4 separate regions of the Homo sapiens genome follow, and regions 1, 2 and 3 are each linked to region 4. The links are contacts of gene promoters, found by promoter capture Hi-C in blood cells and fetal thymus (Javierre and others, 2016). All regions are on one chromosome and are shown on one strand. Each heading gives the region's core, a stretch centred on a gene start or on the middle of the fragment in contact. The rest is flanking DNA. Distances are from core to core; before and after follow the strand shown. Region 1 overlaps LNPEP (leucyl and cystinyl aminopeptidase). Region 2 overlaps RIOK2 (RIO kinase 2). Region 3 overlaps ERAP2 (endoplasmic reticulum aminopeptidase 2). Region 4 holds the start of GLRX (glutaredoxin).

What was found. Contacts are between HindIII fragments. The CHiCAGO score rates a contact against its expected background, and 5 or more counts as called.
Region 1: a contact is called between a fragment that was not itself captured here and the fragment with the promoter of GLRX in region 4, in 1 of 17 cell types (non-activated CD4 T cells). The highest score is 6.1, in non-activated CD4 T cells.
Region 2: a fragment that was not itself captured here is called in contact with the fragment with the promoter of GLRX in region 4 in 1 of 17 cell types (total CD8 T cells); the score reaches 5.9 in total CD8 T cells.
Region 3: a fragment that was not itself captured here is called in contact with the fragment with the promoter of GLRX in region 4 in 2 of 17 cell types (activated CD4 T cells and non-activated CD4 T cells); the score reaches 7.8 in activated CD4 T cells.

The regions. Positions count from the first base shown.
Region 1 is chr5:96,945,350-96,951,499 of GRCh38, forward strand. The region is part of intron 1 of LNPEP (leucyl and cystinyl aminopeptidase); the gene reads left to right. Among named protein-coding and RNA genes, the nearest start is that of LNPEP, 12 kb to the left of the region's middle. The HindIII fragment of the contact is 1,886 bases long and covers 3,249-5,134 here.
Region 2 is chr5:97,174,916-97,181,204 of GRCh38, forward strand. It overlaps RIOK2 (RIO kinase 2), which reads right to left. Exons shown (of 10, transcript NM_018343.3): 2 at 4,140-4,278; 3 at 2,817-2,933; 4 at 2,201-2,376. It also overlaps the pseudogene RNU1-73P. Among named protein-coding and RNA genes, the nearest start is that of RIOK2, 5.2 kb to the right of the region's middle. The HindIII fragment of the contact is 736 bases long and covers 2,328-3,063 here.
Region 3 is chr5:96,879,436-96,885,682 of GRCh38, forward strand. It overlaps ERAP2 (endoplasmic reticulum aminopeptidase 2), which reads left to right. Exons shown (of 19, transcript NM_022350.5): 2 at 129-825; 3 at 4,357-4,495. The coding sequence starts at 251. It also overlaps a transcript of ERAP1 not described here. Among named protein-coding and RNA genes, the nearest start is that of ERAP2, 6.1 kb to the left of the region's middle. RefSeq lists a silencer at 5,041-5,215. The HindIII fragment of the contact is 1,199 bases long and covers 3,510-4,708 here.
Region 4 is chr5:95,819,972-95,826,435 of GRCh38, forward strand. It overlaps GLRX (glutaredoxin), which reads right to left and starts at 2,755. Exons shown (of 3, transcript NM_001118890.2): 1 at 2,485-2,755. The coding sequence starts at 2,691. RefSeq lists enhancers at 1,127-1,266, 3,183-3,272, 3,503-4,003. The HindIII fragment of the contact is 7,969 bases long and covers 1-5,843 here.

The DNA of each region.
Region 1 (6,150 bases), core at 2,942-5,441, 1.1 Mb after region 4:
GAGCTGTGGTCATGCCACTGCACTGCAGCCTGGGCAAGAGAGTGAGACCCTATCTCAAAAAAAAAAAAAAAAAAAGAGATCAGAAAGGTCTTTTTCTATAGAATGTTCCACACAAGAGACAGCTTTGCAGGGCCATTTCAAAATAGGTCTAAGAAATATATTTTGGGGTAAAATACCTTTATTTCTTTCACAGCCTGCTATCTGTTGTGTGATGTTATACTAGAGTCAGTTTAGAATTTGGTATTTTATTGCTACAAAGAGTGTTTCGTCAGTCTTAAGATCTCTGTTTTAATATTAATGCTGGTCAGTTGTGCCAGAATTCCAAAGGGAGGAGAGTATAATGAGGTGCGTCTGACCCCCGCTTCCCATCATAGCCTGAGCTAGTTTTTCATGTTTACTTTGGAATGCCCTTGGCCGTTCAGTCAGAGGGGTCCATTCGGTCAGTTGAGGGGCCTAGAATTTTATTTTTGGTTTACAAAATCATTCCAAGATCCTCTTTAGAGGAAAAATTTATAGAGATTAGTGGGAATGATGAGGAGAACTCAATCTTGAGAGCTCAATCAAAAGGAGATGTTTAAATATCTTTTTAAGTTGGTATTGGTAAAGTGCTTTGAAGACAGAAAGAATGTAATACATGTCTGGTGTCTGCTTGTCCTATAATTGTCGGAAGGGCCTCAATGATGAAATAAGGGAGGCTGCCATGACACTTGAGTCTTGGTGAGAGGAGCTAGTGTGTCCACATTTATCAAGATCACCTGCAGGAGTTTGGGCTGGCCCCCTCTTATTAGTAGTTTCTCTGTTTTTTAAACTGGAGGCTCAGCGCCTTAGTATCTAGATTGGGTAGCTACATTATGAAGATAACTCAAACTGAACAATAGAGTATTGGGTATTAGTGGGAATAAGAAATGCATTGCTCTTTAAAGCAGCAGCCTCACTTCCATCTGCATCAGTACAGGATACTGAGAGGCTTGGTAGCATTCCACTTGTAGGAAGCACACAGAAAAATAATTGAATATAGAAAAGAGGGTCTAGTGTGACTTGGGGATTAGATAATAGAGCATGTTGAATTAGATGGAAATAAGCACATGTTCACTAAAGTGTGGCTAGCTTTGTTCCAGTCCAGTTGTTCACTGCAGTTGGGCATAATTCTGTTTTAATTAATTACCAATTCAGGAAATATTATTGCGATAAAGACTTGAAGAATTTATGCATAGAATCTTGTCTTGGCACATCATCGAATGACAATGACTATTAGTAGAAAAAATGTAGTTACTATCCCAGCCTTTTGACTAATCCATAACTAATTTTTTAAGTTGGTTAATGATAAGCAAACTGGCCCTCAGTCAGTTGTAAATTGATGACAAAGTTGTTACTATAAAGACTGAAGACTGTCGTATACCTGGTGTTTTATCAATCCAATGAGTCACATGGAAAAGTATTACAAAAAATTATCTGCAAGGTAATTTTTTGTTCAGATCCTTCTGAGATCTGGCAAATAAATGTATTCACCAACTGAGATTTCTTGTTTAACTCACAAGTTTTCTGTATACATTGAAGAGTTCTTATAAATTTCCTTTGCAGATCCCATTCAGTGATATGCATTCTTTGTTAAATAACTCACAGATACTCATTATGTCTAATGTAATTTTTCATTTTAAATAAGGAATTATAGGTTAAGATGTTCTTTTAAGACTATAGTATAGCGAATTGATGGAATTTAAAAGTAAACTTTTTATCTTTAGATCTTGTGAAAGTATTTGCAGCTATGCAGATTTGCTTGAGAGATTAATAAGCATAAATATTTAGGCATCATTGACAATGTAAATTACTTTATATTGCTAAATCTAACAGGGGCCCTAAGCATTGTTAAAGACTGGCACCCTATATTGTGAGGAAAGATTTAAGAAATACTATGGAATATAAAGATTTTTTGTTAATTTGATTGGGGGGACAAGTTTGTATAAATATAAATGTAAATAATTTAACCTAGGAAAAGAAAAAGAAAATTGAAAATTGGAGCTAAAATAATTTGATTTTTCCCTCAACAGGGTTATTGGCTGTCTTTTAAGTGACTAAAAGAGCGTATCTTTATGTGAATTTTAGGCATGGTCATATGATTAATACAAGGATAAAGCAACCAAATGCTCTCAGTATTTATTCCCGTGCTATTTGTCTGTTTTTTAGTTCATGGAGTATTGTATTGTACTTGGTAATTTGATGCTTTTGAGATGTCCTTTAGACAGATTTTTAACTACAGGACTTCCTCTGTAGAATCGACAATGTGTTTCACTCTCTGTGGCATTGACAATGTTTTTGAATGCCTAATTGTTCAGTAGAACTCCGTGGTTATTATTACAACTTTGTACATTATTATAAATATTTTATATTAGTTGTATATTCCACTGCAGATAGCAACCAGAAAACTAAATACAGAAATATTACATATAGAGAGAATATAATGTACAAAAAAAATCTTGGGAGATGAGTGCTTTGGGTTTAATTCTATTTTACTGAAACCAGAGAATAATAGGATTCAAATCTACCTAATTTTTCTATTTTTCTGATTTTCCATTTTTCTCTTTTTGAATTTTTTCCTTTTCACATTACTTTAGTAATTTGTTCTTCATCTCTTATTTTTATCACCTAGACAGAAAATATAGCAAAGCATAAATCATTTTTCAGGTCACCATGCTTCATTCTTCTTTTATTGGGGAAGGGGCAGTGGTGATCCGGGAAGAAGCATAGTGTAAACATTTTAATACAAATTTCTCTTTTTTTTTTTTTTTGAGATGGAGTCTTGCTCTGTCTCCCAGGCTGGAGTGCAGTGGCACGATCTCGGCTCACTGCAACCTCTACCTCCCGGGTTCCAGTGATTCTCCTGCCTCAGCCTCCCGAGTAGCTGGGATTACAGGCATGCACCACCATGCCCGGCTAATTTTTATATTTTTAGTGGAGACAGGGTTACACCCTATTGGCCTGGCAGGTCTCGAACTCCTGACCTCAGGTGATCTGCCTTTCTCGGCCTCCCAAAGTGTTGGGATTACAGGCGTGAGCCACCACGCCCAGCCCAGATTCTTCTTGCATTCTGTTTTAAACTGCTCCCATTAATAAGTATTTTTATTTGTTTTGCTTTTGACTTGTGCCCGTGTATCTTTTTAAAAAACTATTCTATTTTCAAAAAGATGCCCTCCCAAATAGATACATTAAATGCATTAAAATATTCCTTTACTGTATGCTACCTTGTTCTAAGCTTTGTTCTTAAATTTACAAATATTAACGTAGCATGGTCCCTGATTTTGAGGAGCTTACATTCTTGTGGAATTGTTTCTCGAAAAGATTATTAATATGAACATACAGACTAGCATCCTCTCCAAAAACCATCATACTTTGAGAATTATAGGTCCAGTCCCACACCTTTTACTGGAGATACATTTGGTTTTGTAGCTTTTTTTCTTTTTTTCCATTTTGGAGATCTATTTATAAATCTACCTTATTTTGTTGACTACTGTATAGTATAGTATAATAGTGAAGTGAAAAGTTCAGACAGCCATATTCAAATCCTGGCTCTTTATTCACTAGCTCTCTGATTCTTAAGGATATTACCAGAATATCTTAATATCTTTAGTTAAAAACCTAAAATGTACATTCAAAACTTAAAACTTTTTTGAAATTAGCAGTGGTCTAAGATAAGTGGTGGTTTGAGCATATTCCAGCCTTAGTGAGGTTTTGAAAAGCTGGGAACTAATGGTGTTTCTTGGATCCTAATTCTTTACTAAGGGCTTGAGGCCATTATAGGAGGATTCTTTCCATTTCATATTTATTAACAATTTTGAATTTGCAACACTTTCATGGAAGTGTTGCCTAAAGCATGGGTCCCCAATTTGCATGTCAAGGACCATGCTAGGAACTGGGCTTCACAGCAGGAGGTGAGCAGTGGGCAAGTGAGCGTTACCGCCTGGGCGCCTCTCCTGTCAGATCAGGGTGGTATTAGAGTCCCATAGGAGCATGAACCCTATTGTGAACTGCACTGGGGAGGGATCTAGGTTGCATGCTTCTTATGAGAATCTAATGCCTGATGATCTGAGGTGTTACAGTTTCATCCCAAAACCATCATCCCTTCATGCTCTTGCCTCTGTCACTTCCGCCACACCCCTGTCTGTGGAAAAATTGTCTTCCACAAAACCAGTCCCTGGTTCCAAAAAGGTTGGGAGCCACTAGCCTAAAGAGTAGAGGAACTGTACATTCCTACATCCAACTTAATTCTGGCCCAGGTATGCTTTCATGGTGCCTTCAAGAAAATGCAATATGCAGCACCTCATTATTCATACAAATAGGTTCTATTTGTTCAGCCGAAAAACATTAATTACATATAGCAGACAAAAACACAGTTCTTTTATATTTGCTACAATGGTTGGCGTCTAACATAGTGTTTTGTTGCACACATATTAGATGCTTAATAAATGTTATCTGAGAGTAATATTACTCCAAACAACTCCAAAACAAACATTTAACAGTTTTGTTTGGACTCTTAAATTAGAGGTCAGTCAGTCTGTCTATCCTTCCGTCCTCCTTCCCTCCCTCCCTCCTTTCCTTTTCCATCCTCCCCCTCACCTTTCCTTTTTCTGTAAACTTTTCCATAGCAAATAGAGTAATTCCAAATCATTTTTTGGAACATTCTTATTAGTGTTCATTCAGCTTCCCTTTCCACTGAAATGAATTTATTGAGTACTTGGAGTATTTCAAACCCTATGCTTTGTACAGAGAAGACAGTGCTAAATAGGAAACCCTCTCAGTGTTAGAGGGAAAGGAAGATGATGTGGAGGGAAGGAGTCTCTTACTCTGAAGCATTTTCAAAATCAACATTAAAGAGTGAACCAACATTTACCTCCTTTCTTCTTTCATCTTCTTATTTCATAGCTAGAGAGCTGCTGTGCGTTTGAGACCTAAGTGGTGCAATTAAATCAATTTCTCTTCCTACAGTGCTGCAAGGACTTCTGGCTGACCTATATTGGGGCACTTTGCTCTTCATTAGAGAGCCACAAAAACAATTCCCAAGCCAATTAAATTCAACTTTTAAAAAGGAATTTCCTAATATACCATAGAGTTGGTGAGAAGGCAATGAATGGGTCCCACAAGCTTTCATGTAGCCTTATGGGAAGAGTAAAGGTTAAGCTGTGTCATGGTTGTCAACTGGGCAAAGCCACTGAAAGGCAGGACTCTCTATTAGTTGACGTAACAAAATATTAATAACTAGTGTTATGAATTAGTTGCAGTATGAGCTGAGGTATGAAAGCATGAATTTTAGACCTGACACTATCCAGGAGGGAAAAAAGTGGATGTTTCTGTACTGATGTTAATCAAAGGTTAAAAATCAAATGACATTTTGAGGAAAACAAACCTAAACAACTCATTAATGGCCACACAACTTAAATTATTGTGTGCGGTACTATGAATACGTTGATTCACTACTTCCTTCCCGCTTAAAATCTCCATTTCTCCCTACTCCTTAGTATATTTATAGAGTAATTATATGGGAACATAGTATAGGCAGTGTAGTAGTCTGCTCTGGCTGTTAGAATGAAGTAATACAGACTGGGTGGCTTCGACAACAGATATTTATTTACTTACAGTTCTGGAGGCTACTAGTCCAAGATCAAGGGGCCACCATAGTTAGTTTCTGGTGAGGGCTCTCTTTCTCACTTGCAGAATGCTACCTTCTTGCTGTGTCCTCACATGGTCTTTGTTCTGTGCATATGTGGAGAGAGCGAGCTTTGCTGTTTCTTTCTATCAAGGACACCAATCCTATTGGATTAGGGCTCTACCCTTATGACCGAATTTAACCTTAATTACCATCTTAAAAGCCCTGTCTCCAAATGCAATCACAATGGGGGTTAGTGCTTTTTTTCTTTTTTTGGCGGGGGGCGCGGGGGACAGAGTCTTGCTCTGCCACCCAGGCTGGAGTGCAGTGGCGCGATCTCAGCTCACTGCAAGCTCCGCCTCCCGGGTTCACGCCATTCTCCTGCCTCAGCCTCCCAAGTAGCTGGGACCACAGGCGCCCACACCACGCCTGGCTAATTTTTTGTATTTTTTAGTAGAGACGGGGTTTCACTGTGTTAGCCAGGATGGTCTCGATCTCCTGACCTCGTGATC
Region 2 (6,289 bases), core at 1,446-3,945, 1.4 Mb after region 4:
GGCATGGTAGCACATGCCTGTGATCCTAGATACTTGGGAGGCTGAGGTGGGAGGATGGCTTGAGCCCAGGAGGTAGGGGCTGCAGTGAGCCGTGATCGTGCCACTGCACTCCAGCCTGGGTGACAGAGTGAGACCTTGTCTTGAAAATAAATAAATAAATAAATAAATAAATAAAAGGTTCTGTTTCATGTGTTATCTTCTCAACTTTAAGACACAGATCGTACTGGTTATTTCTTTGGCATCCACTCCTTCACCCTACACTACCCCAGCAATTAATTTCAAAAGGTTGTCTATTGCTTACCTTCTGTGAACAAGAACCAAACCACTTCCCACTTCCCAGATATTTTTCTTTGCTTTGTTTTTAAATACTTTTTTTCAGTGTAGACCATTTTGAGCATACCTAGACAGATCAATAGCACGTGATAAACTTAAAGATTGTGAATATTTGTCTAGAACTTGTGCTATCGCCTAGACCTCATGCTATAGCCCAATCTTTATCTTCTTGTTCCTCTCTTATGAATAATCAATACATTAAGGAGTGCATTTATGTGCAACCAGATTCCATTCCTATACCTTCAATATAAATATCCTGAAAAACACCTACTACCCTTTTGGGAAAATGTGTAAATGATCCCTACCAAGCTGCTCATTTACTGACTGAATATTACAAGATACAAACTATTAGTATAAGAAGTACATTGACATGTATGGTATCAGTATTACTAATTTATGCTGCCTTAAGAAATCTCCCATGATTAGTGAAAATTTAAGTATATAACCCACTCAAAGAACAAGCTGAATCCTCAAGAAACAGGTGTTCACACACTGTAGCAATCTTTAATTCACATTGTTTTGAAAAATGAAGATAAACTATGACAAATCCTACTGGCAGGATTATAAAAACACAATATTATCTTTTGTTTAACTTAGTTATTGTTGGATATATTTAATTTGGATATTATTATATTTAACAATCTATGCTGAACTTAATTTTGAAGGCAAAGTTAAAAATAAAGGATTTTTTTTTTTAATGTCAGGGGACAGTATAAATGTAGTCCGCCAGTGCCACAAAATATGCAGTCAAGTTCCAATATTTGGGGAAACTGCAGGGGTCAGCACACCTGAAGTGCAATGAATAGGCCTAACCCTGAGAAAACCGTCTTTGAGATTTTGACATTTCATCTGCCAGGTTAAGCATTTTTTTCTATTTGTATAAATGTATGAGGTACATGTAACATTTTGTTAAGTATATATGAGAAGTCATCAAGTCAGGGTATTTAGTGTGTTCATCTCCTGAGTACAATACATTTTGTTTACTATAGTCACCCTACTCTGCTATCAAACATTGAATGTATTCCTTCTAATTGTATGTTTGTATCCTTTAACCCACTTCTCTTCATCCTTACCTCTTAAAAACTAAAGATTTTTACCATTTTTGTTTTTTGAGACAGAGTCTTGCTCTGTTGCCCAGGCTTGAGTGCAGTGGCACAATCTTCACTCACTGCAACCTCTGCTTCCTGGGTTCAAGTGATTTTCCTGCTTCAGTCTCCCAAGTAGCTGGGATTACAGGTGGCCACCACCATCCCCGGCTAATTCTTGTATTTTTAGTAGGGATGGGGTTTCACCTTGTTGGTCAGGCTGGGCTCCTTACCTCAAGTAATCCGCCCACCTCGGCTTCCCAAAGTGCTGGTATTATAGGCATGAACCACTGCACCCAGCCAATTTTTACCATTTTTAATATACATATAAATCTATAAATGTTTGTTCCTTTATGTGAAACAAAAAACTAGCCAACTTATCTGAGACACTAAGGTTTCTACAGATGATAATTACCTGGTGTTTTCAATTAGAAACAGACATATGTATAGTTACATATATTGAATAGATATATATACATCCACACATACATATTTGTGAGGTAACAGCATCATTAATTACTTTTGGCTCTTTCATCTTGTCAGCATTACAGAATGTGTTGCCCTTATGCATTAGTAACAATTTAAAATACCTTAACGTAGAAGGAAATCACTTAAAAGAGCCCAAATAATCAACAGAGTTATTTAAGATTGAGTCTGTCTGTAGGAATTGAGTCTAAGGTTAGAGAGATGTGGGGACAACAGAATCACACTTGTCATTAAGGCCTTTGAGACACATGTATTATTTGGCTAAAAAATGCATGACTACAAAATAAAATAAATACCTTCATATAGGCAAATTCCTTCATGGCAGAGAGACGAGATAAATATAGCCATGACACATTGTGCCTATGTTTATGATAATCGCGTTTGTTTTTCAAATTTCGAAACGAGGTTCTTCCTAGTCTGTGAAGCTTTAATGCAAATTGTTGTCCTTCTTCATTTGCAACAATGTAAATATCTAGAGACAAAATTTCAAAAACAACCATTATTACACGTTTATTCCAATCAGTTAAAACAATTCTAACTTTCTCTAATTTTATTTGTATCAAAAATGTCATTTTTCCTAATAAAGATTGAGTATCCCTCCTTATCCAAAACCTTCGGACCAGAAGTGTTTTGAATTTTGGATTCTGGTATATTTGCACATAAATAATGATATATCTTGGGAGTTATTAGAAGAAAATTAATTCCTGGTATAAATGAATTTTCAGTGATAGACGTTCAGAGAAAATAATAACCTACTAATTAAGGACACCTTCTGATTTGTACTGCTTCCAATCAACTTTCCAACTTACTGTTTAGTTAGAAAAAAGGGAAAATTAAAAGAGGAAAGGTTTCTGAAGGGAAAACATAAACTAAAGCAAAGAAAATACTTTGCACAGTACTATTAGCACTTACCTGATTCTTTGCCAACACCCATCTGGTTTCCAACAGACTCAACTACTTGCCTAGAAGAAAGTGTTTTCAAAGCTAGGTAATCATATCCTGCATTTGTCAACCGATAGCCCTGGACAGCTAGACAAAAATCAAAGCATAAAGACCATATTTCAGTTACATTGTACAACCAAGTCACGTAAGTTCAAGTCATAAGAAAGATTTAACAATAAAGTCTTCATTGGAAAAAGATAAACTGCCCAGGCTCACAAGCTTCCAATTTCTTCCTATAATTTGCATTTCTTCTCCAGTGTACTGATAATCAAAATGTGACCTACAGACAGGTCTGTAAGTGTTTGTGACAAGATAAAAGGAGGAATTTAAGTTCAATTTGTATATCAATTTGACCTAGAATTTATGTCTGTTTTTGTATATCTGTTATCCATTTCATTTTTCTAGTAATTATTTTTTTGTATTTTATAAAAGTAAGGATCTGTGATAGGTTGGAAAAAACTAATCCTTCACCACAGATGGTTTCAGAAGTAATGATCTAGGGTATGACTACTGATTGTATTTTCCAAAGATGGTAGCCACAATAGCTTTATCCTATATGCTCTTCTGCAGTACCTACATGCTCTTCATGCTCTTCTACAGTACCTACATGCTCTTCTGCAGTACCTACATGCTCTTCATGCTCTTCTACAGTACCTACATGCTTTTCTGCAGTACCTACTTGCTCTTCTGCAGTACCTACATGCTCTTCTGCAGTACCTACATGCTCTTCTGCAGTGCTCTACCTGCTCTTCTGCAGTACTCTACCTGCTCTTATGCAGTACCTACGTGCTCTTCTGCAGTACCTACGTGCTCTTCTGTACTCTACATGCTCTTCTGCAGTACTCTATGTGCTCTTCTGCAGTACCTACGTGCTCTTCTGTACTCTACATGCTCTTCTGCAGTACTCTACCTGCTCTTCTGCAGTACTCTACCTGCTCTTCTGCAGTACCTACGTGCTCTTCTGCAGTACCTACGTGCTCTTCTGCAGTACTCTACATGCTCTTCTGCAGTACTCTACATGCTCTTCTGCAGTACTCTACGTGCTCTTCTGCAGTACCTACATGCTCTTCTGCAGTACCTACATGTTCTTACTACTATTCTTTTTTCACCTCCTTTGATCTGGGTGTGCCCTGTGATTATTTTGACTAATAGGATATGGCCGAAGTGTGTTCTGTCAGTTCTTCGTCTAATGCTTTACTAGTCTGGCAACTTCTACTTCTTGACTTTTGGAACACTTGCTCTGGTGGAAACCAATTACCTGAAAAATCACAAATGGTGCCTCAAAATACTTACTTTTGGTACGCTCCCAAGCTATGAGTTTATGTTTCACTAATTCTCTTAAAACTTTATTACAGCCACCATGTTTAAGGCTGGCTATAGAAGCAATCAAACTGCCGGGAACAATTTCATGGTTCTTCATGCCCATTTCAACCTGAAATTAAAGGAATCATTATATAATCATAATCAACACAAAGCCTTGTCTATCAAAACCCTGCGAAATTAACTTCTCCTTGAAGCTTTCCTGACTATGCAGTTCTCCAACTAATTCTGAGACATAATCACTTCCGTCTCTTGAAAATATTTTTAATTGCAATTTGAAATCTAATCATTGATATTTGTATTGGCTTTCCATTTCAAGAGTAGGAACTGTGAGTGCTAGACATACTGATGACATTTGGTCAATGCTAAAATACTTGATGACACCTAAACATTTGTCTTTAAAAACTACAGATATGCCAGATATTTATTAAGCAGGTATTTAATGAGAAAGTACTACATGTAGGCATCGTAGAGGATATATATATATATATGAATGATAGACTGGATAAAGAAAATGTGGCACATATACACCATGGAATACTATGCAGCCATAAAAAAGGATGAGTTCATGCCTTTTGCAGGGACATGGGTGAAGCTGGAAACCATCATTCTCAGAAAACTAACACAAGAGCAGAAAACCAAACACCACATTTTCTCACTCATAAGTGGGAGTTGAACAGTAAGAATACGTGGACACAGAAAGGGGAACATCACACACTGGGGCCTGTCGGGGGGTGGGGGGCTAGGGGAGGGATAGCATTAGGAGAAATACCTAATGTAGATGGGATGGGTTGATGGGTACAGCAAACCACTATAGCATGTGTATACCTATGTAACAAACCTGCACGTTCTGCACATGTACCCCAGAACTTAAAAGTATTTTATATATATATATAATATATATATATAAAATATATATATATTATATATATATAATATATATATAATATATATATTATATATATATTTTTAAATTTATTCCTCAGAGGTAAAAAGCACATATATATATATCTCTATCCTACATGCTCTTCTGCATGTGTATATGTATATATATATATATGTATATATATATATATATATGTGCTTTTTACCTCTGAGAAATTTTTATCTCATGATGGAAATTTTAAAAAATGGTATACATCTAAGTTTATTAGAAGTTAAGAAGTGATAAGTGCTTAAAAAGGTAGCTCAGGGCAGAATAAGAATACTTCTAGCTGAGGGATCAGTTCCAAGGAAGATGCAAAACTAGAGACTGACTTTTAAAAGATGTGGGCATACAGAGAAAACAGACAAGGGGATATTAGTGAAAGAAAAAGATTTGAAAATGGCACATATGCAAGAAAGTACTGACCACAGAGAATAGCTGAGTACAGTAGCAGCTCAGATGGGATAGCATATAGAATTCATGCAAACGCGGCTGGAAGATACTTCTAGGATAGAGAAGGCATTAAAATGTAGACCAAATACTTTTATATTTTATCCTGATGAGAGCAGGAAGCTCTTGAAGATGTTTAGGCGTGGGAGACACACGAACAGGGTTATTTTAAGGACATTAATGTACCAGGAATATGCAAATTGGCTTAGAGATGGCAAAATCTGAGGGGGTACTCCGGAGAACTAAGACAGAAGTCCAGCTCAGAGGAAAGAGCCACCAGAACAGGGTAAGTGGTAGTGGTACTGGAAGGAAGGAATAAAAATCTTTAGGAAGTATTATGGGAGAGCTTGGCAATTAGATGTGGAAGGGTAAAGGGAACGGAAAGCCACAATTGGAAGTGATGAGGAAAAGCAAGTTTTAAGATTTTATTATTTTTTTTTTTTATAGAGCTTGGGAAAAGAGAAAGGGGGTAGAAAAAAATTGAATTTGGTTTGAGCACTGAGAGTCAAATAAAAATGTTTAAAGGAAAACTGGAGGCCAGGTGCAGTGGCTCACACCTGTAATCCCAGCACTTTGGGAGGCCAAGGTGGGTGGATCACGAGGTCAAGAGATCGAGACCATTCTGGCCAACATGGTGAAACCCCATCTCTACTAAAAATACAAAAATTAGCTGGGCGTGGTGGTGTGCGCCTATAGTCCCAGCTACTTGGGAGGCTGAGGCAGGAGAATCGCTTGAACCCAGAAGGTG
Region 3 (6,247 bases), core at 2,859-5,358, 1.1 Mb after region 4:
GATACTTGGCCTAATTCTGACAGAGAGCAGATTTTCCCTTACTCACACATACCTTTTTACATGTTTAAGATTTTATTTGTAAATTGAAATCTTTTTTGTCATGCTATAAGTGTGTTTTTTTCTTCTAGATTAAATTCATGTATTGAAAATATTGTTCAGACCCCATGTGACATAACTGGAGCCAGTGCAGTGCCATGAAGAACTACGAGATTAGCCTGGATATTAACTTGTCTTCTAGAGAATAGATTTCATGTTCCATTCTTCTGCAATGGTTAATTCACACAGAAAACCAATGTTTAACATTCACAGAGGATTTTACTGCTTAACAGCCATCTTGCCCCAAATATGCATTTGTTCTCAGTTCTCAGTGCCATCTAGTTATCACTTCACTGAGGATCCTGGGGCTTTCCCAGTAGCCACTAATGGGGAACGATTTCCTTGGCAGGAGCTAAGGCTCCCCAGTGTGGTCATTCCTCTCCATTATGACCTCTTTGTCCACCCCAATCTCACCTCTCTGGACTTTGTTGCATCTGAGAAGATCGAAGTCTTGGTCAGCAATGCTACCCAGTTTATCATCTTGCACAGCAAAGATCTTGAAATCACGAATGCCACCCTTCAGTCAGAGGAAGATTCAAGATACATGAAACCAGGAAAAGAACTGAAAGTTTTGAGTTACCCTGCTCATGAACAAATTGCACTGCTGGTTCCAGAGAAACTTACGCCTCACCTGAAATACTATGTGGCTATGGACTTCCAAGCCAAGTTAGGTGATGGCTTTGAAGGGTTTTATAAAAGCACATACAGAACTCTTGGTGGTGAAACAAGGTAAGAACTTGCTCAGGTAATTTACATTCTTTTGTGATAATTTCCTTACGAGTTACATCTCTTTGCCAGGAGCAGACTTCAGCAGCCATTTATGAGAAATCCAGTGAACTATGGGGAACCCAGAAGAAGGAAAAGATCTACCATTCCTTAAGGAAACCACAGTAGAGATGTAAAGACAGGACTCAGAGGCATAAACAGCTAGAGGGTGAATAACTAGGAGGAGAGGCCAGTATATGACTGATATGATAGATATGCTTATGTGCTAGGGAAAGAGATGGTCAGTGCAGAGAGGGCTGAAATAGGGAATGCTTCTCAAAGGAAGTGAGTCTTCATCTGGGACCAGAAGGAAATGTAAGTGAGACTGGGATTGGGAGAGAGGAAGTGACAAAGTATACATTGCCTAGGTAACAGCCATGACTCATATCGAATAGTCAGAAACAAGGAACTAGTTTGGAAAATTGAGAAATATAGTCAATTTGATCAAGTCACATTCATTGAGCACATACTATGTGCCAGGCACTGCACTAGGCACTGAATGTATAATGGTGGGATCTGATGGAAGAGACAACCAGGACAAGAAAATCAATAAAATTGGCAAGGTAATTGGCCAGTGTTATGAATGAAATAAAACAAGGTGCAAGAAAGGTAGAAAATGAGGCTGGAGATTGAAACTAATTCAGTTGACTGGGCAGGGAAGTGTTTGTTGAGGAAGTGAATTTAAATTGAGAGCTGAGTTTTTTTTTAAAGAGACAGTTATGAGAACATCTCGGGGCAAGTGCTCTAAAGTGGGATTGGTTGAGGAAGGCCAGTGTAAGCTGAGGAGAGCGAACAAGAGGGAGAAAGGGATCAGATCATGTGGAGCCTTGGGGCGTCTTGTAAGGAGTTTTGACTTTAACTCAGATGAAATGGGAAATCACTGGAGGATTCTGCTCTGATTTATGCTTTATAAAGATCAAGTCTATGTTGAGGGTATGTTATAGAGAAGCAGAGTAATCAATTGGGAGGTCATTGCAGTAGTTCAGGTAAGAAGTGATGCTAATTTGGGCCAGGCTAGTGGCAGTGCTTATGGAGTGAAACAATTGAACTTGGCAGTTATTTTGGAGGGCAAAACAACAGAGATTGCTGACATATTGGTCATGTGAGGTGAGGGAAATAGAAGAATCAAGGATGCTTCATAGAGTGGACGGCTTGGTTTCCCAGGGCCAGGATCCATCTGGGAGGTAAGAGGAGTCTGGCTCAGTGCACTCTCACGTTATGTGAATTGTGTTCAATTGCCAGTTGGAGAAATCTAAATTCCATGGCTTAACCACACAGGGGCATATTTTTCTCATGCAACAAGAAGTCCAGAAGTAGGGCAGCTCAGATTGCTATAGTGCTGTTCAGAGTCATCCAGGACCCAGGCTCCTTCTGTCTTTCTGCTCAGCCATCCTATGGCTTTCTTCCTAATACTTGCAAGATGATTGCTGCACCTCTAGGCATCAAGTCCACATTCTAGGCAGGAAGAAGGGGGACACGGGGGAGAGATAAGGGCAAAAAGAAACATTCCACTTGAATCTAACACTCTTTACAAAGATTTCCCACCCAATGACTTCAGCTAGACCAGAATGAGTCATAGCCTCACCAAGTCACAAGGTAGCCTGTAAGAAGTAACTCTCTTATCTGGACTTGTTGCCTTCCTGAATAAAATCAGGATTCCACTGGAACCAAGGAAGGGAAATGGGTATCAGGAAGTGACTAGCTGTGTCTACTACATCCTGCTCTTCCCTTCCCCACTTGGGTGCTCACTGCACAGCCTGCAGCCATCCACCTAGGACAACTCTTCCCCAGGCTCCTCTCTTTCCACATTCCCTTGGTGACACTTCCCCTCATTGCAGCCACAATCCTCAGGGGCTTGTTTTCAGGCTCAGCACAGTATTGGATAGGAAAAGTGTCAACTTCTTCTCACTAAGGCACCACATAAACAATGATGGCTTTTTTCATTTTTTTCAAATGCCGAAGGCCCCATCCAAAGGACATATATCTTAGGGATACTATTCTGGGAGCTGTGGGAGATGAGAGGGGGAGATATTTGGAGTAAAGCTGTAGGACTTTCCAGCATGCCTCCCGTGATTAATTGCAGGCTATTCCTGATGCTCCTTATGGTTAATTAGTCAGTTCCCTTCATACTCAGTCACCTAGTAGGTCTGACATGTATGATAATGTACTGCACAATGTCAATTGAATCTTATGAATCTCTCTCTCTTTCTTCCTCACTTCTTCATCTAAACTACACAAATAATTCAGTTGAAAGTGGTTCTTTTGAGATGCAGAAGGTCACACTTTGCATGTAGAGTTCCAATGAATCGTGTAAGCAACAAAGATTCAGGTTTTTTTGTTTTTTCAATGTAGACTTGTTACAACCAAAATTTCATGTGAGTGAAAATTATTCCAGCCAGTTAGAATTCCTTTACATTTGCAGAAACTGCTACCAAATACAAATAAAACCTTGAGGCCACAAGTGAATCATTTACATCCCTAGCCTCAGTTTCCCAGCCTGTGTCATAGAAATAAAGCAAGCTGAAGTAAAATATCCTGACAGCTTCTCTTTTTTCCCTCCTGACCTCTCTCTCCCTCTTATTTGAGCTATTCTATTCCCCCCTCCTTTTCCAGTCAAAATCTGCTCTCCAAATTCACTTCTTAATTGAAGCTTAAAGTCCAAAGAGTAAATCTGTAACTGTACAGTTTCAGGCATATCCTGGTGTTGGGGTAGAGAAGTTTATCAGAGTATATATCTATTATACCTGTCATCATCTGAAGAGTGGCAAGCAGAGAGAACTAGAAGTACCTGGGGGCACAGGTGCCACAGACAGACCATTAGCCAACAATGGTACAAGAATATGAAAGTCCAGCTCCTTGCCTCCAGTGGGGGACACGTGAAGGCGTAGTTTGCATCCCAGAGCTCCCTGGGAATCAGGCTGATGCTGGGACTTTGCCTGTCCTGCACCCTTGACTGGCTTCTCCCTTTTCCCTGTCCTGCTTCCCTCACTCCCTTACCTGTTTCTCCTGGCAGGATGTTCTCAATAAGTCAGGATCTGCTTCCTGGAAATACAACTTAGGACATCACTCATGTACACAATTACTCAAATGTCTATCTGAGGCCCTTTCAGGTTTAGAGACAATACTGAACATTTAATTTCCTAGTGAATTTTGAAGACATGTAGACAACATGTGTACTATTTCAGTCATTTACTGGCTGCGGATCCTGCTAAGGTCATTCAAGTTGTCTGAGCCTCAATATCCTTGTTTGACCTGAGTATGAATGAAATAATGTAATTAGCATTCCCAAAACAGGGCATTGCTTATGATTGATGGCTGCTAAATAAGATTTTACCTTCATTTTCCTCAAAGAGACAGTTGAGATTCACAAAGATTGCAGTTTGAGAAATCAAGTCTATTACCCCCAGGTTTGATAAGCTGTTTGCTGAATGTACAGATTCATTTCTCTTCTTGATTTCACTTGTGCATTTTGGCTGGGGGTGGGTCTTTTCACAGAATTCTTGCAGTAACAGATTTTGAGCCAACCCAGGCACGCATGGCTTTCCCTTGCTTTGATGAACCGTTGTTCAAAGCCAACTTTTCAATCAAGATACGAAGAGAGAGCAGGCATATTGCACTATCCAACATGCCAAAGGTATGTCCACTTCCAGAAACTTTTAGAAATTGTTCTCAAGTTGAGACTCAGTCTTCGTTTGTTTTTTAAAATTGCTTTCAGGATTTCAGCCATTAATTTGTTTTTATCTATCTATCTATCTATCTATCTATCTATCTATCTATCTATCTATCATCATAATTTCAATCATTCTAGACGTTAACATCATTCTGTTTGGGGCATTGTTACACAGGAAGCTTTTTTTTTCCCAAGCAAAGTGATTTATATTTTGTGTTCATATGGAAACAGTATCTTAAATCTGTGTTTCTTGGCCAGGGATGAAATTCAGAATTTCCTAGAGCAGTACTTCTCAAACTTTAGGGTCCAGATTAATGGTCTGAGAATCTTGCTAAAACTCAGATTCTGATTCAAGAAGAGGTCTTGGGTTGAAGCTTGAAGTTCTACCTTTCCAACAAGCCTCCAGCCACTGCTGACGGTCCAGAGACCCCTTTTGCAGTGGCAAGGACCTCAGGGACCCTGCAGGGCCCCAACCCAAGAAATTCTGATCTAGAAGTCTATGATGGAACTTAGAAATCCCCTCTTTTAAGTTTCACAAGTAATTCTTAAATTTATTTATGAAAATTATTAATTGTGGTTATACAAGTTTTTTGTTTGTTTGTTTGTTTTGAGACAGAGTCTCTCTCTGTTGCCCAGGTTGGAGTGCAATGGCGTGATCTCGGTTCACTACAACCTCAGCCTCCTGGGTTCAAGCAATTCTCCTCCCTCAGCCTCCCAAGTAGCTGGGATTACAGGCTCCCACCACTACACCTGACTAACTTTTTTTGTATTTTCAGTAGAGACGGGGTTTCACCACGTTAGTCAGCCTGGTCTCAAACTCAGGGACCCTGCAGGGTCCAAGTGCTAGTAGAGGCAGCATATCTTTTGGACACTTATTTGTCTCTTTCATCCTGTAAGGAAACACACACTCACTGGTGACAATTGCCATGCAAGTAAACTTCTGCTGGTATTGAGAAAACAGCTAAATCCTTGTCTAGCAGTCAGTGTTTTGTACTTGAGATTACATCACCATCCTGGAAGAACTTACACTAATACCCCATACACGTCTATTTAAGGCAATGTTAATCTACATGGGTCACTCCAGGTTTCTGAACAAAACTCAGCCTCCATGGACTGTATCGTCTTCATCTGGTGGGGATAAACCATAGCAAACGCCCATTTGCCTCCGAACCATCTCTGCCACCAGCCTTCTAGTAGCCCAGACGTATTTCCCCATAGTCTCACAGCCTCACGCCTCTGCCAGTAACCCCTCCACACACTTGACTAAATGGTTTTGCTGCTGAGTTTGGTCAGAAGACCACAATAATACCCCAGCTCTCAGCCCCTACCATAAGACAGCACCTCCTCTGCTGGGAGTGGATATCCAGAGAACACTGGTTGAATCAGCTTCCTAAAAATGGAGACGGTTGTTGGGGAAAATTAATTTGCTGGATAGAGTTCTTAAAAATTACAGCCCTGTATATACTTTGACTTTTCTTACAGTATTTTATCAGTACCTTCCTCTTTATTGGAGCTTAGAAATAGATTTCAAATAGAATTCAGCAAAATTAAATTCTGTAGAATTTAGTAGCAAAAACATTTGCCATCAAAGTAGACTAGATAATTTATGGTAATGCTTCAAGCTATTTTCTCTTGCCAAAGCAAATCGTAATCTTATCCAACATGTCAAACATGCTTAATAAGCTGCAGTCAGCATCATCACAAGCCTGACTCCCA
Region 4 (6,464 bases), core at 1,505-4,004:
ATCAAACATGCAGCTTTAAAAGGCTTGTTCTTCCCCTAGGAGGAATGCACTCAGAATTCAAGAATCTGTGAAAAACATTTTTCTAAAAATGAAAAACAGGCTTGTTGAGGTGGATCACATCTGTAATCCCAGCACTCTGGGAAGCTGAGGTGGGAGGATAGCTTGAGGCCAGGAGTTCAAGACCAGCCTGGGTAACATAACAAGACCCCCATCTGTACAAAAACTTAAAAAATTAGCTGGGTATGATGGCTCATGCCTGTAGTCCCAGCCACGGGAGGCTGAGGTGGGAGGGTCACTTAAGCCCAGGAGTTCGAGGCTGCAGTCAGCTATCATTGCACCACTGCACTCTAGCCTGGGTGACAGAGCAAGACTCTGTCTCTTAAAAAAAAAAAAAAAAAAAAAAACCTTAAAAGATTACTACAAGAAATATTGTTGTTCTACAAAGAAATGAAAAAGCAATTGTTGACCAGGTGTGGTAGCTCACACCTGCACTTTGGGAGGCTGAGGTGGGTGGATCACCTGAGGTCAGGAGTTCGAGACCAGGTTGGCCAGCATGGTGAAACCCCATCTCTAATAAAAATACAAAAATTAGCTAGGTGTGGTGGCAGGTGCCCGTAATTCCAGCTACTTGATTGCTTGAACCTGGGCGGTGGAGGTTGCAGTAAGCCAAAATCACACCACTGCACTCCAGCCTGGGCGACAAGAGCGAAATTCCATCTCAAAAAAAAAAAAAAAGCAATTGTTAAATGAACACATGAAGAGGTTTGCTTTACCTCCTGGAAAATAGATGCTGTTGGGCTGAGAACAATAATCCCAATTGTGTTGCACATTGGAATCCCCAAGGGATTTTTCCAAATAAAAATCCCAGGTGTGGTGGCTCACCCGTTTAATCCCAGCACTTTGGGAGGCCGAGGTAGGTGGATCGCCTGAGGTCAGGAGTTCGACACCAGCCTGGCCAACATGGTGAAACCCCGTCTCTACTAAAAATACAAAAATTAGCTGGGCATGGTGGTGGGCGCCTGTAATCCCAGCTACTTGGGAGGTTGAGGAGAACCCAGGAGGCAGAGGTTGCAGTGAGCCAAGATTGCACCATTGCACTCCAGCCTGGGTGACAAGAATGAAACTGTCTCAAAACAAACGAACAAACAAAACTAATGCTTGGCTCCCACCTCTGACATTGTGATTTAGTTATTGAGGGGCATAATTTGGGCATAAGGATTGTTTTAAAAGCTCTCTAGGTGATCCTAATGTGCAGCAAAGTTTGGGAACCAATGGCTAAAAGGTCCTCAGGGTGGCAGCCACAGTGGGGCCCGTAGTAGTGTTTGCACTGCCCTTTACACCTCTCAGGGCCTGGGCATCCTATGCAGCTGGTGGTCCCACTAGGCAGCAAGAGCTTCTCTCGTCATTGTGTATACTCCAGGACCTCAGCACACAGCAGTAGGATAACACACTAAGCCCCCTTTCTGCACCAAAATGCTGACTTCTTATTAGAGAGAAGGGGAGAGAAACAACCTCCAATGCTTTATACTCAGAACCCAGAGACAACCTTGTAAGTCAAACTAAAACTGAAATAGGATATGTGCTTGGCCTAACACTGTGCTGTAGAATTCGTGCATCGTAAAAGAGAACTTAGCTGAGCTGGTGGGACATTTCTCATCCCACCTCACAGCAGAACTGATACAGGTGATGTGGCTGGCATCCCTCCTGAAGCCCAGGACGCAAAGCCAAGGATGCTGAAGAGAGGGAAGTCTTTCGGATGGAGGAGAGCAATTTTTAGAGGGTCCCACAGTCTATTCGTAGCAAATGGGACTCTGAGGTCACCTAATCTGGTCTTGCAGCTGGGATCTTTGAGGACTACTGGGGTGGTGACTTGCCCAGGATCACACAGCCAGCCATTATAAGAGCCAGGCCAGAACTCCAGGCTATGATTCCCTACAATGTGGGGCCTGGAAACATCCATAATTAATTTAGAACAAGGGGCAGATAACGGTACATTAGATTTTTCCAGTGGGAGGAATTAGATAAGGAAGAATGAGCAAATTAGAAAAAGAAAGCCTAGAGAAAAGAATGAAGAACATGAATCTCATGTTAAATAACAAACACATCACACCCGGCCCTCCACCCCAGCTTCCACCTCCAGCCCTGCCAACTGAAAACTGTCATTTCCTGGCAGTGCTTAAAACAAAGACTCTAGATAATTCCCCAGGGACTCACCGGCAAGCTGCTGGTCCCACTTACCCTGCCGCACAGCAGACATCAGCTGTACTCCCTCTTCTGCCCCGTGAAGACCTTTGGCTGCAGTGCCGCCGCTCATTCAAGTGACCGAGATCCTCTCTAAGGCGCCCTCCCCCACACCCCCCGCCCCGCACAGCCCTCTGGACGCCTTGAAGTACGGAGCCGCAGCCTTATCCTAAAGAAAGGCACAGCTCTGACAAGAAAAGGCAATCCGGGAGCCTTTCCCTAGCCGTTTAAAATGAAACTCACCGTTCTTGCTCCCGTGAGCTGTTGCAAATAATCTTGAATCTCGTTAGTGTGGTTGGTGGCTGTGATATCGACAAATTCCAGAAGCCCTTGTTTGATGGGCAATTGACTGAGGATCTCTTGGGCCCTCCTGCAGTACGGGCAGGTGGGCTTGATGAACACAACCACCTTCCCAGGCTGGATTTTGCAGTTCACAAACTCTTGAGCCATGCCGATGGGCTGCGGTCTCCCCGGGAAGAATCCTCAGTTGCAGGTATTGCTTGGGGTATTGAGCCCCGACCCAGCCAGTTGGCTCCTATTTAATAAGGAACCTCCCTGGAGGCGGAGTTTGCCTGGTAGCTTGCTCGAGTTTTAAAGGGACAGCTTCGAAGACATTTCCATCTGGTATACTTCACTAGTTAGCAATGCCCAGGAATGCAATACTTGCTATTTAATCATTGGTAGCTATGAAAGACACTCTGGGTATCTTTGTTGTCCTTGGACATTTGGGGAGTGCCTGCCCATTGGCAATGATCAGAGTTTAGTCACCTCTGGGGAAGCATAAAGTGCTTACTCACAAAGGGGCTGAGGAGGCAGTGACTTCTTAGAGCAAATTCTTGTTTTCCCTCTAGGAGATACAGTTGTATTTTAAAATGCAAACAGAATCACTTAAGAAACAGAACACTTGGAAATCTCTTTAGAAGAAGTGAAATTGAAACTGTGACTTTGCACTCCTCATGAAGGTTGCTCTCACAGCATTTTGCTTGGACTGTATGGTGGGTGTTTGTTGTTGTGATCTTTTTAATGGAATTCATTCTCAGTATTTAAAAATCTGGAGGTCTCACAAAACAATTCGGACTTAAAACTTCTCTCTGAAAAGTCAGGTCGGGCAATACAGAGCTTGCACCTTTTAGTGGAAGCTGCTGGGGCTGACAGCTGTTGCCCCCTTTGTATAGGGCAAGTAGTGGCTTTGGTTTGCCACAGGTCCCAACGACAGGCCCATGCCTGAGACACCGGCTTCACCCCATAACCATTTGAGTTGGTAACCCTTGAACAGCAGTTTAATATGGAGGCAAATTCCAACACAATCCTTGATACAAAACTACAGATGAAATGAGAATCTTTTTTTCTGGTTGAGCCTATGTTTGTGACCCTCTGCTTTTAACTGTTTGTGAGGGGAAGTAGTGTTGTAACTCAGACACCACATTCACTTCAAGTGTTATAAGACACGGGTTGTAACAGTAGGAAATCTTTCGCTCTTCCCCAGGGTGCCCATTCTCCTTATCCCGCAAAGCAAAGTCCTCTACTCCTGGGTCTAGTTCCGGCCCCCTCTAGTGTATGGTAGCTTAAATAAACAAATCAAGGAAAAACTATGTCCTTTAAACGTGAATCATCCTTTCCCCAGGAAGTTTTATGGTGAAACCAGAGTATCTTCAAAGAGGCGGGGCCAAGGCCAGAGCTGGACACCACGACTGCCACGTAAGAGGAATCCCAAGCATACTGCGATCAAGGGAAGGGAAGAAAATCCACTCCCAGAAGCAGCTTTTTACTGTGACTCTCATCGTTACTAGAATTAAAATGGCAAAATGAGAAAGCCAGATTCTGAGTCACGGAGGGGGAGCTAAGTGACAGCTCTGTCCAGAGAAAAGGATGTGGCAGGGCTGGGAGGCCCCTCACGTGGTCAGGGCTCCGGACTTCCCACTTCCCACTTCCCTCCAAAGTAGGCTCTGCCACAGAGTCTGAGCCTCCTCTCTTTTTTCATTCTTTTACCTCAGAACCCTGTGGCCAGGCTCCTTCCAGAGGCCCCTGCCAGGAGGTCCAGGGTCTGTTTCAGGGCCCTCAGGCTGTTGCCTTAAGTTCCCTCAGCCTGAGGTTTATCCACACGACTTGCACCTGCTACTCACTCAGAGCCTTTCTCTTCTCCGGTCTGTTGTTGGCTCCTCCCTTCCTGGTGCCTCAGCCTGCCACTGTGTTCAAGTTAAAAGCCACCACCACCACCACCACTCCCCATTTCCTGCTTTCCTGCCTCTGCCCTTTCATGAAATTTACTGTCTGTACCTTTCTCACCTCCATTCTCTCATTTTGTTGTTATCTGACCTTGTCAACCATTCTGCTGAATTGTTGGCAGACACTAATCATGGCCTCTATGTCACCAAATGACCATTTAGCTAGGTATCCTGACCTTTTGCAAATTAGTCACCTGCCCCAAGAGGCTGGGATCCAGGGAGACTATTGTCTGCCTCTCACTCAGTCCCGGGGACTGCCTGGTGTCTGAAGCCTTAGGACAGATGGCCATAAGGCACAAGCTAAAGGCAATTTTTTTGTGAGGCACCATGTGGAAAATGGGAGACAAAGAGATGGCAAAGAACGGGTGTCCTCTCCATTTCTCAGAAAATGCTGTGGCTTCAACTCAGTGAAAAATGACAAGCATAGAAGCCTCTGCTGCATTGTACAGCAGGAGCTGAAACCCAGCATGGACCTTAGGGCATCTCAATGGAAAGCCGCCATGGGGACTGCAGATGCGTCAAGTGCTGTGGATGGAAAGAGGGTGTGCGTGTGGACTAACACGTGTGGACTCTCCTTTGGCTTGTGTGAGACACTCCCAGGCACTCTCAGAAAATACACCTTGGAGGGTGGGAAGTGAGGGCATTTTTTAGGGGAGAATCAGTCCTGCTTTACAGATGGTTGGCAACAAGCTAGTGAAATATGTGTGGTTACTCTTTTTTTTTTTTTTTTTTTTTTTGAGACGGAGTCTCACTCTGTTGCCCAGGCTGGAGTGCAGTGGCACGATCTCTGCTCACTGCAAGCTCCGCCTCCCGGGTTCACACCATTCTCCTGCCTCAGCCTCCTGAGTAGCTGAGACTACAGGCACCCGCCACCATACCCGGCTAATTTTTTGTATTTTTAGTAGAGACGGGGTTTCACCGTGTTAGCCAGGATGGTCTCGATCTCCTGACCTCGTGATCTGCCCACCTCAGCCTCCCAAAGTGCTGGGATTATAGGCGTGAGCCACCGTGCCCGGCCAATGTGACTTCATTTGTACTCACAGGCTGATGAGGGCTGCAAAAAATGTGGCCACAAACGAACATTCTTCAGGGTTTTTCCTTACCCACTGTGCAGGGTTTGACCTTGTAGATCACTGCAGGCCTCTGGAAGTTCTCTTCCCACTGCCCATTGCAGCATGATCTTTTTGCTCTTTCTATTGGATATTGTCTCAGTGTCTTTGTTAAGAATTTTGCCTACACATATGGTCTATCTTGGGGCTTGATCTTCTCATTGTGTACACACCCACTCCTTGAGAGGTCGTAGCTCCACACATGACTCCAGCTGTCAGCTTTTTACTGATGAGCATCACGTTTTTCCTTATCTGGACCTCTCTCCTAAGCTTCAGGGAAGGCTATCTCATTGCCTACTGAAAAGACCCACCTGGGGATTCCTTAGGCCTCTCAGCCTCTAGGCAGCCAAAACTGAATCTCCCCTGAAGCCACCCTCTTTCCTCCATACCTGCTCATTGAGCCTGCATGCACCTTCATGTACCTTTTCGGCCAGGGCGGAAACCTGGCAGGCATCTGTGCTGGCCTCTGCTTTCACTTATGCATAGTGGCCAAACCCTACCAAGTTTGCCTCCTGAGTGCCTCCCTGGTCTGAACACCTGACTGCTCCTGCTGCTCTAGCCCTCATTAGTTCTTCACTCCCTCTTGTAGCACCTCCACCCTCGCCTCACTGCCTACTCCACACTGCTGCTGGGGCAATCTTTAAAAATACAGAACCTATCTTGTTCCCTCTTAAAACTAGTCCATGGGCTGGGCGTGGTGGCTCATGCCTGTAATCCCAGCACTTTGGGAGGCTGAGGCGAGCAGATCATGAGGTCAGGAGTTTGAGACCAGCCTGGCCAATATGGTGAAACCCCATCTCTACTAAAAATTTAAAAATTAGCTGGGCGTGGTGGCGTGTGCCTGTAGTCCCAGCTCTTTGGGAGGCTGAAACAGGAGACTCTCTTGAAC